2 separate regions of the Homo sapiens genome follow, and region 2 is linked to region 1. The links are contacts of gene promoters, found by promoter capture Hi-C in blood cells and fetal thymus (Javierre and others, 2016). All regions are on one chromosome and are shown on one strand. The core of a region is centred on a gene start or on the middle of the fragment in contact, and the rest is flanking DNA. Distances in the headings are between cores, read along the strand shown.

The links. The method cuts DNA at HindIII sites, captures the fragments that hold promoters and counts their contacts. A CHiCAGO score of 5 or more calls a contact.
Region 2: a fragment that was not itself captured here is called in contact with the fragment with the promoter of EBF2 in region 1 in 1 of 17 cell types (M0 macrophages); the score reaches 5.6 in M0 macrophages.

Annotation. Positions count from the first base shown.
Region 1 is chr8:26,042,210-26,047,594 of GRCh38, reverse strand. EBF2 (EBF transcription factor 2) reads left to right here and starts at 2,182. Exons shown (of 16, transcript NM_022659.4): 1 at 2,182-2,866; 2 at 5,344-5,385. The coding sequence starts at 2,736. RefSeq lists a silencer at 3,968-4,262. The HindIII fragment of the contact is 12,164 bases long and covers 863-5,385 here.
Region 2 is chr8:25,509,651-25,515,035 of GRCh38, reverse strand. No RefSeq gene overlaps it. Among named protein-coding and RNA genes, the nearest start is that of CDCA2, 53 kb to the right of the region's middle. The HindIII fragment of the contact is 4,480 bases long and covers 654-5,133 here.

The DNA of each region.
Region 1 (5,385 bases), core at 933-3,432:
CCCTGACTTTGCCCTTTAACCCCAGCCAACCTGAGCCTGAGGGGTAAACTGTTGGGGCTTGGCCCAGGCCCACTGCTGACCAGAGGCCTCTCCGGGTGCCCTGCGCACCTTTCCGGGGCAACGTGGAGGTACAGCTGATCAAAGCCCCCTTGAAAAAAAAATCACCGGGCTCATAGGCATGTCTTGAAGGGCTCACGGCTGTTCCACACTCTCTGCCAAGGAACTCAAGGCTTTGGCCCCGCTGGGCGCAGACCCCAGACGAAGGGGGTGGGGGGGAGTTGCTTGAGGTTCGGAGAGATTTATAAAGAGAGACCGTAGAAGACTCCAGGTGATCAGTTTTTGCTGGGACCGAAATTCTCCGTAAAACCTGCATGTAACAGAGAATTGCCGAGTTGAAACAGGGCAGTGAATCTCATCCCTACAAATTTCCCTCCCTACCCCCTTCTTCCTTTGGACACTCCTGTCTTACTTGGCTTTTACTAGCCACCCGATCCATTTCCCAATCGCCCTGTATGGCTCTCCCGCCCCTTCCAGTCCAACAGGGAGGACCAAGCCAGAGCTCTGGGGTCGGGGTACCACAGTCAACACAACCCAGAGGCGGGGGGTTTACCTTCTCTACCTTCCCCCAAATCAATGACCCCAGTCCCTGGATCCCGGGGCCTGTGCAGAGACGGTCCGTGCACCCGCCCCGCAAACTCCCTAACCCCCTATCCGTTTTCAAGCGAATCTCCGCAGTTCGGACCAGCACTTCCTAGTCGCAATCCCGCGCACGCAGCGTGGTGCCGCGGTTTGTCCCTTGGGGAGGTGGAGGCGCGCACCGGTCCCTTTCTCGAGAGAGCCGAGTTTTCTTGAAGTGCAAGCTTCCTGTCAGCCTAGGCAAACCAGTTGCAAGGCGCTGTGTCCTCTAGCGGCAAACTCTAGCAGTTCATTTGCGAGCGCTCACCTACACCTAAGGGATCTGGTCTCTCAAATCTGAGACCCAAGAGGGGAGAAAGTGCCCTGAACGCAGTCCAGGCGCTCGCAAATGCCCTCCCCGTAATGAGACCGGGAGACTGGGGCGCAATCGCTCGAACTACGAACAGCTGATTGTCTCCTCCACGGCAGATGGTCTTTGAGCACAGATTTGCATTCATTGTCTTCAAATCTGTTTTCGCGCTGGTGTTCTAGATTTCAGCAGCAGCAGATCTATGCGCAGATCAGAATACAAAAGGAGAAGCAAGAAAATGACACCCAGCCAGGAGGATGTTTAATAGGCACCGCGAGCAGCCCCGCGCAGTTAAAAAACCGTCTAGGGTTTCAGCTGTTCGGTGAGGCTGCTGCCACCGCCTGCCGGCCACCAGCCCGCGGCCAGCACCGCGGCGACCGCGCGCGGTGGGCGAAGTTTCCACGACTCCCCCGTCCCTCCCCGCCCACTACCGGGGGCTTCGGGAACGGAGAGGTGGGGAGGGAACCGGAGGACCCGCGGGAATACTCCCCGGCCGCTCGCGCACTCAGCCCGCCTCGATCTGTCAGCAACCTCTCCTCCACACGGGTGCGACTGCCGCTCGCGCCCGCCCGCCCGCGGGTGTTTTCCTTAGGTCCTGGACCGTTTTCCCCAGCACTGTATTTGAGCAGCACTTGCCCCTCGCTTGTCCGCCCCACCCCATCCCCCGCCTTCTTTCATATGTTCTCCACTCTCAGCAACGTGCAAGCCGCACACAACATCTGATATCACCATGGAACTCCAGGAGACCTGGGGAGCCATTCAGGGAGCTGGGTGCTCTGGGGGACGTTTGCGCAAAACATAAGCACATGTGGCCACGCTCACAAGCATGCACACAGATCCGAACCCCGGGAACGAACGTGCCTCCCGGCAGGCTACAAAAGCCTACATCTAGAGGCAGGATCCAGGGAGGCTTCCCGCAGCCAGGCCGAACCCCTGCGTCCCCAGCCCGCAGAGACCTGCTACCCTAAGTCAGTGCAGGGTGTGGGGGCCCCCCAATCCTGCGCAAGCACACGGGGTTCGTGCTAGGACTCGACGCCCGCAGCTTTCTGTCCCCTTTCACCTCCCGGAGTCCCGGCAACGCAGAGCGTGGCGCGCGCCGCCGGAGGACGTCGGCCCGGCTTGCCAGGCGCCGGCCAATCCCGCGCGTCCATGCAAATGAGGCTCCTTATCGGGCCGCAGCTCCGCCTCCCGCAGCCAGGGCCGTAGTAACCCATTCATGGGGCCCGCGCGCGGCTGCAGCCGGGCTCCGTGGCGCTCGCAGCCACCGCCTCCTCTCGGCTCCAGGTCTTCCCCTTCTTTTTACAACTGATCCTGTTGGGGATTTTTTTTTTTTCTAAATTGGAACGGTGGGGAGGAGCAGGGAGGGGGGACCTGGAGGAAGGGGAGAGATTAGGCAGCCATCAATTTCCTCCAGTTTCTCCCAGAACAGGTGATGCTTCTAAATTGTGATCACTTTCAGGAGGCAGCACTGCAGCTGGAAGGATGCGAGCGACCTAGGGTGGAGTGGCTGAGGCGGCAGATCTGAACTTGCGGAGGATAAGAACCCAAACTTTGACTACATCAGTCCGCACCTCGCCAGTGAAGCAAAGGACGGGTTATCTTTTTTTTTTTTCTAAGACTCAAACTTGGGCACTTGATCCCTTTTCTTGGATTGCTTTGGAGGAGACGATTTGCTGGCAACGTTGGGAACAGTCAGGACTGTGTTGTAACTCTTACTTTTAAAGCGACAGTAGAGGATCAGACTTTTTAAATGTTTGGAATTCAAGATACTTTAGGAAGAGGACCAACTCTGAAAGAGAAATCGCTGGGCGCGGAGATGGATTCGGTCAGGTCCTGGGTCCGGAATGTCGGAGTGGTGGACGCTAATGTCGCCGCGCAGAGGTAACGACACGGCCGCGCAATTATTATGCTGTCTCTCGCTCTTACGGTCTGTCTCTCCGTGTGCACCCCCCCCGCGCACCCCGTGCCTTTCTCTCTCCCTGTCCCCCCATCTGTCGCCCAGGCCCTGCGCGCTGGGGCTCGCCCTCGGGCAAGCAGATCGCTGCAGTCAGGCGAACGCTCACCCGGCAGCCGGCACTCGAGTTCCTGAACTGCCTGGGTCGTAGGCGTTTCTCTCCCTCTCCTTTACCACAGTCCACTCTTTGCAAGGAAAAATAAAGTAGCCCCCAACATCTCCCAGCTCAGCCCCTAGTCCTGCAAGCCGAGCCGGCCTGGCCCCGAACGGAGCGTGAACACCGGCGCTGGCAGTGGCGGCGCGGGAGGAAAGCCGGCTTCCTGGCCACTCTTGGCTTCGCCACGCCGCCTGCGAGCGCCTACCTCCCGCATCTTGCTGGGCGATTCCTGGAGCCTGGGAGGCCGGCGGCCAGAGGGTGGCGGCGGCGAGGGGAGCGGGAAAAGCCGGAGCGGCTGCCCGGGAAGACGAGGCGGCCGGGAGCTCTGGGAGGGGGGACAGGCTGGAGGGTCCCGGCTCAAAGATAAAACAGTGAGCCAGACGAACGGAGCTAGGGAACTGGAGAAAAGAAGAGATTTAAAAGAAGAGAAAATACTGAGTCACAGTAGAAAGAGTTGCGGAAGAAGAAAGAGGCGAGAAAAGGCCACCAGCAGCTAGACTGGCTCAGGGATCGCCAGCCTCTGGTTTTGCGGATCCCTGAAGTTGACTTTGTGTTTAGGCGTCTGCGTGCTGGGATAGTAAATACCATGTCCGGGGTGCCACCCTACGAAGACATTACGGTCCCACTCTCTCATCACCACTACTGAGTTGGGATTTGTGGCCTCCAGGTCCTTGTCTGCGAGAGAGGCAGCCCTTCTACCCCCAAAGAGCCGATGAACTTCTTCCACTACCCTCGCTTCCCCTGCTGCCCTCCTGGCCACCCACATTTAAGTGCCAACATCACACGGAGAAATGATCCCTTTCCCAAACTGGCCAGGTGTCCCGGGTAGAGCGAACCGGCCTCTACCCTTGGAGCGGAGAAAGCAGAAGTTTTATCGCTCCGGGACTTGGGCCGGCGGCGGTTCCCTCCCTCCTGTGGCCCGGGGAGCGCGGATTTCCCTCCGGCAGACCGCACAGCGCGGCGGCCGCGGCTTTCCGCAGCGCTTCGGGACTGGCCCGCCTGCGAGCTAAGGGAAATAAGGCAGCACCGCAGAGCCAACTGTGCCGCGCATTTCCTTAGCTGGGCTCCTTAAAGACGCCTCCCTCGCTTTCCTTCCTTCCCGGGATCAAAAAGTTTGTTGAAGCTGGAAGGAGCAGACTTAGTGGGGGAGAGCTTAGCCAAAATGTTACCCCTTTCAAAAGAGTGAATGAAGGTGCTTGCGCACCGGGGTTCAACCTGGGAGACCCCAGCGCCGCAGGGCAGCTCCCGCAATCTGTGCGTTCACCTCAGCCCCAAGTCTTCGGTGAAATGGGATCTGATGGCCAGGTGGGCTGTGACTGCGACCGGTTGGCTGGGAAGCGTGTGCACACACTCAGCACGCTCGAGGGCGCCTTCCGGGTCCCCCAACTTGGGTTTCACAGTCACTGGGTTCGGCTGGCGCCGCCAGAAAACGCAGCATGAGTGGGGATCGCGTTGGCCCCAGGAAAGGAGGTTCTCGCCTTTTAACAGTTTGGCTTTTCCCCACCTAGCACCTCTGGGAGGGAGGGCCCCCTATGTCGGTCATCTCATTTGTGGTGGCCAGCGATCCCCGGGGCTGGTCGCGAGGATTCCGCCCTGTCTCTGTCCCAGGCACAACTTTTCGGAAGAGCGAGGCAAGCAGCCCAAGGACCCAGACCTGGACTCTGTGTTACTCTCCCGCCTGCCCCTTGGGGTTCTTACCCACTACCTTTCCCAGTCAGCATTTGGGCGTTGTGAGCAGTGGGTCCAGGACTGATAACTCGAATTAATACTAAATAAAAGGGTCGCTTCTTCCAAAGCAAAGGAGGCACTTATTCCCCTAACCCTGGGCCCCAGCTCTGCATCCTGATACACCCAGCAGTACCACCTGAGGGAGTGGATGGAGACAGCCCCACGGTATAGGACGCGGGCCACCTCCTTAGGGGACCACTCTGGGCCTCTGTCTGCAGCCGGGGTCTTTCGGTTTCGACTAAAGACGGGATGGTGAGTGGCCCAGCGGTGGGATGCCGGACCACTTGGTGGTGTCAGAGACCCCAGGTATCAACCCTGCCACCCAACCCCCGTGGCCACGGTGACTCCTTTAAGGAGTCTCCTCTTCCTTATCCGAATTGGAAAAAAGGCCCGAAGGGTTCAGAACTCTGGACCTGGGAAGTGGACCCCTTACCCCTCTGCAGTGTTGTGGGCGGTTAGTAACATCGCCTTTTTGTGCTTCCCCGTGTCTTGTGTTCCCCCGTTTTTCTCCCTGTGCAGCGGGGTCGCCCTGTCCCGGGCCCACTTTGAGAAACAGCCTCC
Region 2 (5,385 bases), core at 1,644-4,143, 530 kb after region 1:
GGGCAGGAAGAAGGGAGGCAGAGGGTCACTGGAAATCACCCAAGACTAACACCAGGTTTTTCAGGTTTGAGTCAGGGAATACTTCTGCAATCTTCATTCCCAGCGTTTACTTAAAAAAGAAAAGACAAGACTGGCTGCTTTATTGATTATTCCTCTGTTGTGAACAATTAGAAAATGGACATACTGTATTTTGTACAAACGTTAGGCAGAAAATCTTACATTTTACTTTCGAGTGATTGGCATCCAAACTAAATGTACTTGAACTGAAAAAATCCCATTTTACTCATCTTCTCTATAACGTTTCAACTGTTTGACCCCCATTTTATACTGAAAAATTATTCCCATGTTTGAATCAGACATAGGGATGAACCTATTTTTGCAAGCACCTGCTACTTAGCAGTTATGTGATGTGAAAAAAGAAGAAATTATTGACATTTACTTCCTTGTTTCAACAAGGACCTGGGATATGAGAACACTGGGAATGCAGTTTGTTTTTCAAAAGCAAAAGAAATGCCAGTATCAGATCACTGTATTTGACATTATAAAATATTATCAAAGTGGAAGAATTTTTAAAGCAAACTTTAAGACAGTGAATAAACCATGAGAATAAATTATTAGATATGGCAAATATATGTACTTTTAAATTCCAAGCTTAAAAATTCACACACATACACTTAAGAATTTGGAACTTCAAAAACTTAAGATAATTTGACATTTCTTCAATTACATCTAAAACCAAAATGTTAGCTGTTTGCATCCCTGAAGGCAACTTATTATCACAGAACATAAATCAAGATAGTCAATTTGTATGCCTAGGATAAATGAGAAAAAGACTTAGTCAGCTTTCCAGGTGGTCACCGGAAATTTTGTGATGAAATCCCAACTTACCCTTTAGAAAATGCAAACCTGTATTCTTCTTTAATGTAAATGCTTATTTATTTTCTCTTTTCATGTAAGAGATATAACGCTTACAAAGTATCAAAAAATTAAAAGCAGTTTCAGAAAATATTTGCTTCTCAATTGCCTAGAAATTTCTAAAAACCTTTCTAATAAATCTTTAAGGTCATATCAAAATCAGGCTAAGTATGATCTTGGTTGAAGATGTGGAACAGAAATATGTATCAGTTGAAAGGCAGTAATTACTTATCTTCTCATTTAAGCTATGTTACTCGCAGTCTGTAACACAATTTCATAAACAGAAAAGCATCAAAGAATATGCAAAAATGAACACACCTGCACAATATTAGACAAACTTGAAACTATTAGGCCATAGTATGTTAGTAATTAACCCATTCTAGAGCTAAATCAAGGCTATGCAATAATCTTCAAATAAATTTAAGACACCCCAAAAGGGGGATGTACAATTATTTGCTGTAATTTAATCCCAATTCCACTCACTTGGTCTAGGACTCCAAACCCACAGTGAAACCCTTTAGACACACTACAAAGACACCCAATAGTATGAGACAGAAATGCCTAAGCAATTGAGAACAGAGCAGGTTTCTTTAAAATTTTAGGTACAATTCACAACTTGTAGTCTAGTTTCAAATCCATGCTTTTCCAGATGTATTTATAGGTTAGAATTTAATGAAAGTTAAAAAATACTTAAAAGAAAAACATGAGATGAAGCCAGCCTGTATCACCTAGTCTCAGTTTAATGAATAATGAAATTATTGAATAATAATCAAAGGAGATTTGGAATGGGATGTGCCTTTTGGGTCCCCATTCCTCTAAAACTCCTATTAGTGAATTTGGCTCAAGCATCACTTATTCTGGAAAGAAACTAAACTTGCGTGATCTGAAGGTTGATACCCCCTGGAGGGCTGACAGGTTGGGGTATCTCTTTTTTATCATACCCTGTATTGTAATTTTGTCCCCTTACAGAAAGAAAACTGAGCATCTTGAAAGCAATTTTATTTAGAAATTAATGCCTGGCACATAGTAGTTGTTGAATAAATGGCTGGCAAATTATTTTATTAATGAGTCCATAATCTGCCTACCTAGAATGAGCTGGTGCAGGAAAATTTTCCTACATTAGGAAACAATCCTCAAATGCTAAGGTTACTGAGTAAGGACAGTGACATTTATTATTTATTTGAGAAAGGGTCTCGCTGTCACTCAGGCTGGAGTGCAGTGGCACGAACATGGCTCACTGTAGCCTCAACTTCCTGGGCTCAAACGATCCTCCCTACCTCAGCCTCCAGAGTAGCTGAAACCAACCATGCCCAGCTAATTTAAATTTTTTTTTTTTTTGTAGAGGAAGGGTCTTATCGTGTTGCCCAGGCTGGTCTCAAACTCCTGGGCTCGAGTAATCCTCCTGCCTTGGCCTCCCAAAGTGCTGGGATTACAAGTGTAAGCCACCATGCCTGGCTAAGTTTTACACTAAATCAAACTATAATACAAACTTCAATTTATGAAAATAAATGAGTCATGCTTATTAGGTAATTTTTTAGCAAATTGAATTTTGAATCTTATTTTAATTCACCTTATTTTCTTACTGCTATACAGAGTAGTGTCCAGAGAGAGAATTACTTCTTGATGACTGAATCTTTTAGTAACTTAGGGTCAAATTTTAAATCATAAACCATAGTAAACTAGTTTCCAGAGGACTAGGCTGAACGCAGAGGCACCCAGAGAAGTTGGTTTCCTTGTTGTGTCTCTGATAGCCTGTCATTGCTGGCTTCACTTCTTGCACCCAAATGGTACTACAAGTCTGGGAATAACTGAAGGCCCCAGACAGATGTGGCTGGTCAACCTTTTGCTTCTTCTGGCCTCCTCTCTACCCTCCAAAAAAACCCCTAAACTATGATTTTAAAAAATCCAAAACTTTCTTATATAGTCACAGTGGTATATTGGTAGAAGAATAGACATACAGATGAACAGAATAATGTCCAGAAATAGATCTACACATATAAGGTCAAATAATTTTAACAGAGGTGCCAATGTAATTCAATGAGAAATGGTTAATCTTTTCAACAAATGGTGTTGAATGATTTCCATTAAAAATAAATAACCCACCTTCATCTCACACAAGAAAATTAATGTGGATCTAACACTTAAGTGAGAGCTAAAACTATAGAACTGGAAGAATACACAGGAGAAAATCTTTGTGCCTTTGAGTTAGACAAAGATTTCTTAGCTAGGACACAAAAAGCATGAACCATTAAAGTAAAAACAAGGTAAACTGGACTTCATCAAAATGAAAATCTGTTCTTCAAAAGACACTGCTAAGCAAATAAAAAGACAAGCCACAGAATGGGAAAAAATATTTTAAGAGACATATCCAATAAAGGATGTGTATCCAAATGTACAGATTCTTTTAACTCAATAACAGTAAGACAATAACAGCAACAACAAACGTGGGCAAGAAATTTGGATAGACATCACAACAAGGAAGATATAAAGATGGCAAATAAGCATAGGAAAGATGTTCAATATCATTAGTCATTAGAGAAATAAATCAAAACCCATGAGAAACTACTGCACACATCCTAGAATGGCTACAATGAAAAAAGGCTAACAATACCAGAGGCTGGTGAAGATGTGGAACAAACAAAACGTGTTGCCAGTGGAAATGCAAAATCATGCAGCCACTATGGAAAAGTTTAGCAGTTTCCTAAAAAGGTAAACATATATTAATACTACCACCATACAGCCCAGGAACCCTACCACTAGATATTTATGCAAGATAAATGAAAACATGTGACTATAAAAAATGATCCATATGTGAATTGTTACAGCAGCTTTATTCACATTAGCCCCAAACCAGAAATAATCGAAATATCCATCAAGTGGTAAACTGATAAACAAGTTTTGGTACATCTATAAAATGGAATAAACAAGTATCAGCAATAAACAAGTATCAACTACTTACAGCATGCAAGCATGGGTGAATCTCAAAAGCATTACGCTAAGCTAAAGACACAAAGGGGTATATATTATATGATCTCATTTGTATGACATTCTGGAGAAGACAGAACTGTAACACTAGAAATCAGATGAGCAGTTGTGAAGACCCGGGGTTGGCAGGTAGAAAATTGACTACAAAGAGGTGGGAGGAATTTTGGGGTGACAGAAATGTCCTATTACTTGATTGTGGCACTGGTTACATGGCTGTATAAATTTGCCAAAATTCTGGATGCTTTAAAAACGCGAACTTCACCGTAGGTTAATTATACCTCAATAAACTTGACTTTGAAAGGTAGCTCTTTCAATCTAAAGCATGAACCAGGTATAATTAATCATTCTCTCCTCCACATACCAGGTCTAAGGCCCACCCTCAATTCTGCAGCTTAAGTGGAAGTAGAGGCAGTAGTGACAGAAGATGGAAGCAAAATGGCATTAAGTAGTAGGAACAGAAAATGAGAGGCAGAAAGAAGGCAAGGATGCCAAAATGTGTGTAAGGGGAATGTGCCAGCTAAGATCCACAGAAGAGAACGTAATCATTTTAATTTCAAGGAATTTATCTTACAGATATTTTCAACAAGCCCAATATGGCTTTGTATTTGCTACATTTACTGCTATAATTGCAAAAGCTGGAGATAACTGACATTCATCCATTAGTAAGGAGATGACCACCTTCATTACAGATGTTCAAGGTATATGAAGGGGTTAAAAAAGACTGAAGTAGCAGCACTAGGGCTGTCCATAAAAAGACTAAAGGATACTCATGGCATTTTGTTGAATTAAAAAAACCAAGTGGTAGAATGGCACATATAGTGATCCTGTTAGAAAACAACAAAACGATGCATGCATGTTTATACAAGAAAGGTCTGGAAGGTGCATGCCAGGTGTTAAGTGCTTGCAGAGAGAGCTGCAGAGAGGAGGGTGTGGCTGGATGACACCTGCGTGGAATGCAAGGAAGATAGATGCCATATTTCCACTTTTAAATTCCGTACAGTTCTGTGTTTTTCAATTGATACATACTACTTATGTAAGAAAAAAGTAAAAATAGGGGGCCACACAGGCAACAGCCATTAGGTTATGCACAGAGAAGGAAAAACTTCAGAGGTTGTGCTGCCATCTTCTGGAACAAACAAGAATCTACAGGAACAGAAACATGATGGAAGAACAAGGGTTAGTTACTGCAACGAAAAAACATGGCAGGAAAAAAAACCATTTTGAAGCCAAGCTTTTGATTTAACCATGAATGAAAACAAATGGGAAAACAACAACAACAAAAAACAAAACAAAACAAAAAACAAGAATGACCAAATACAGAAATTATTAATGTTTTACACATCTTGTACAAATGAGACCTGGTAGATAAAACTGCATCTAACTTGCTTTGATTTTTCAGATTTTTTTTTTTTTTTTTAGGAAAAATGCCTATTTGTTATTGACAAATGTCAACAAAATGTTTATAATGAAACATTTTGAAACTAA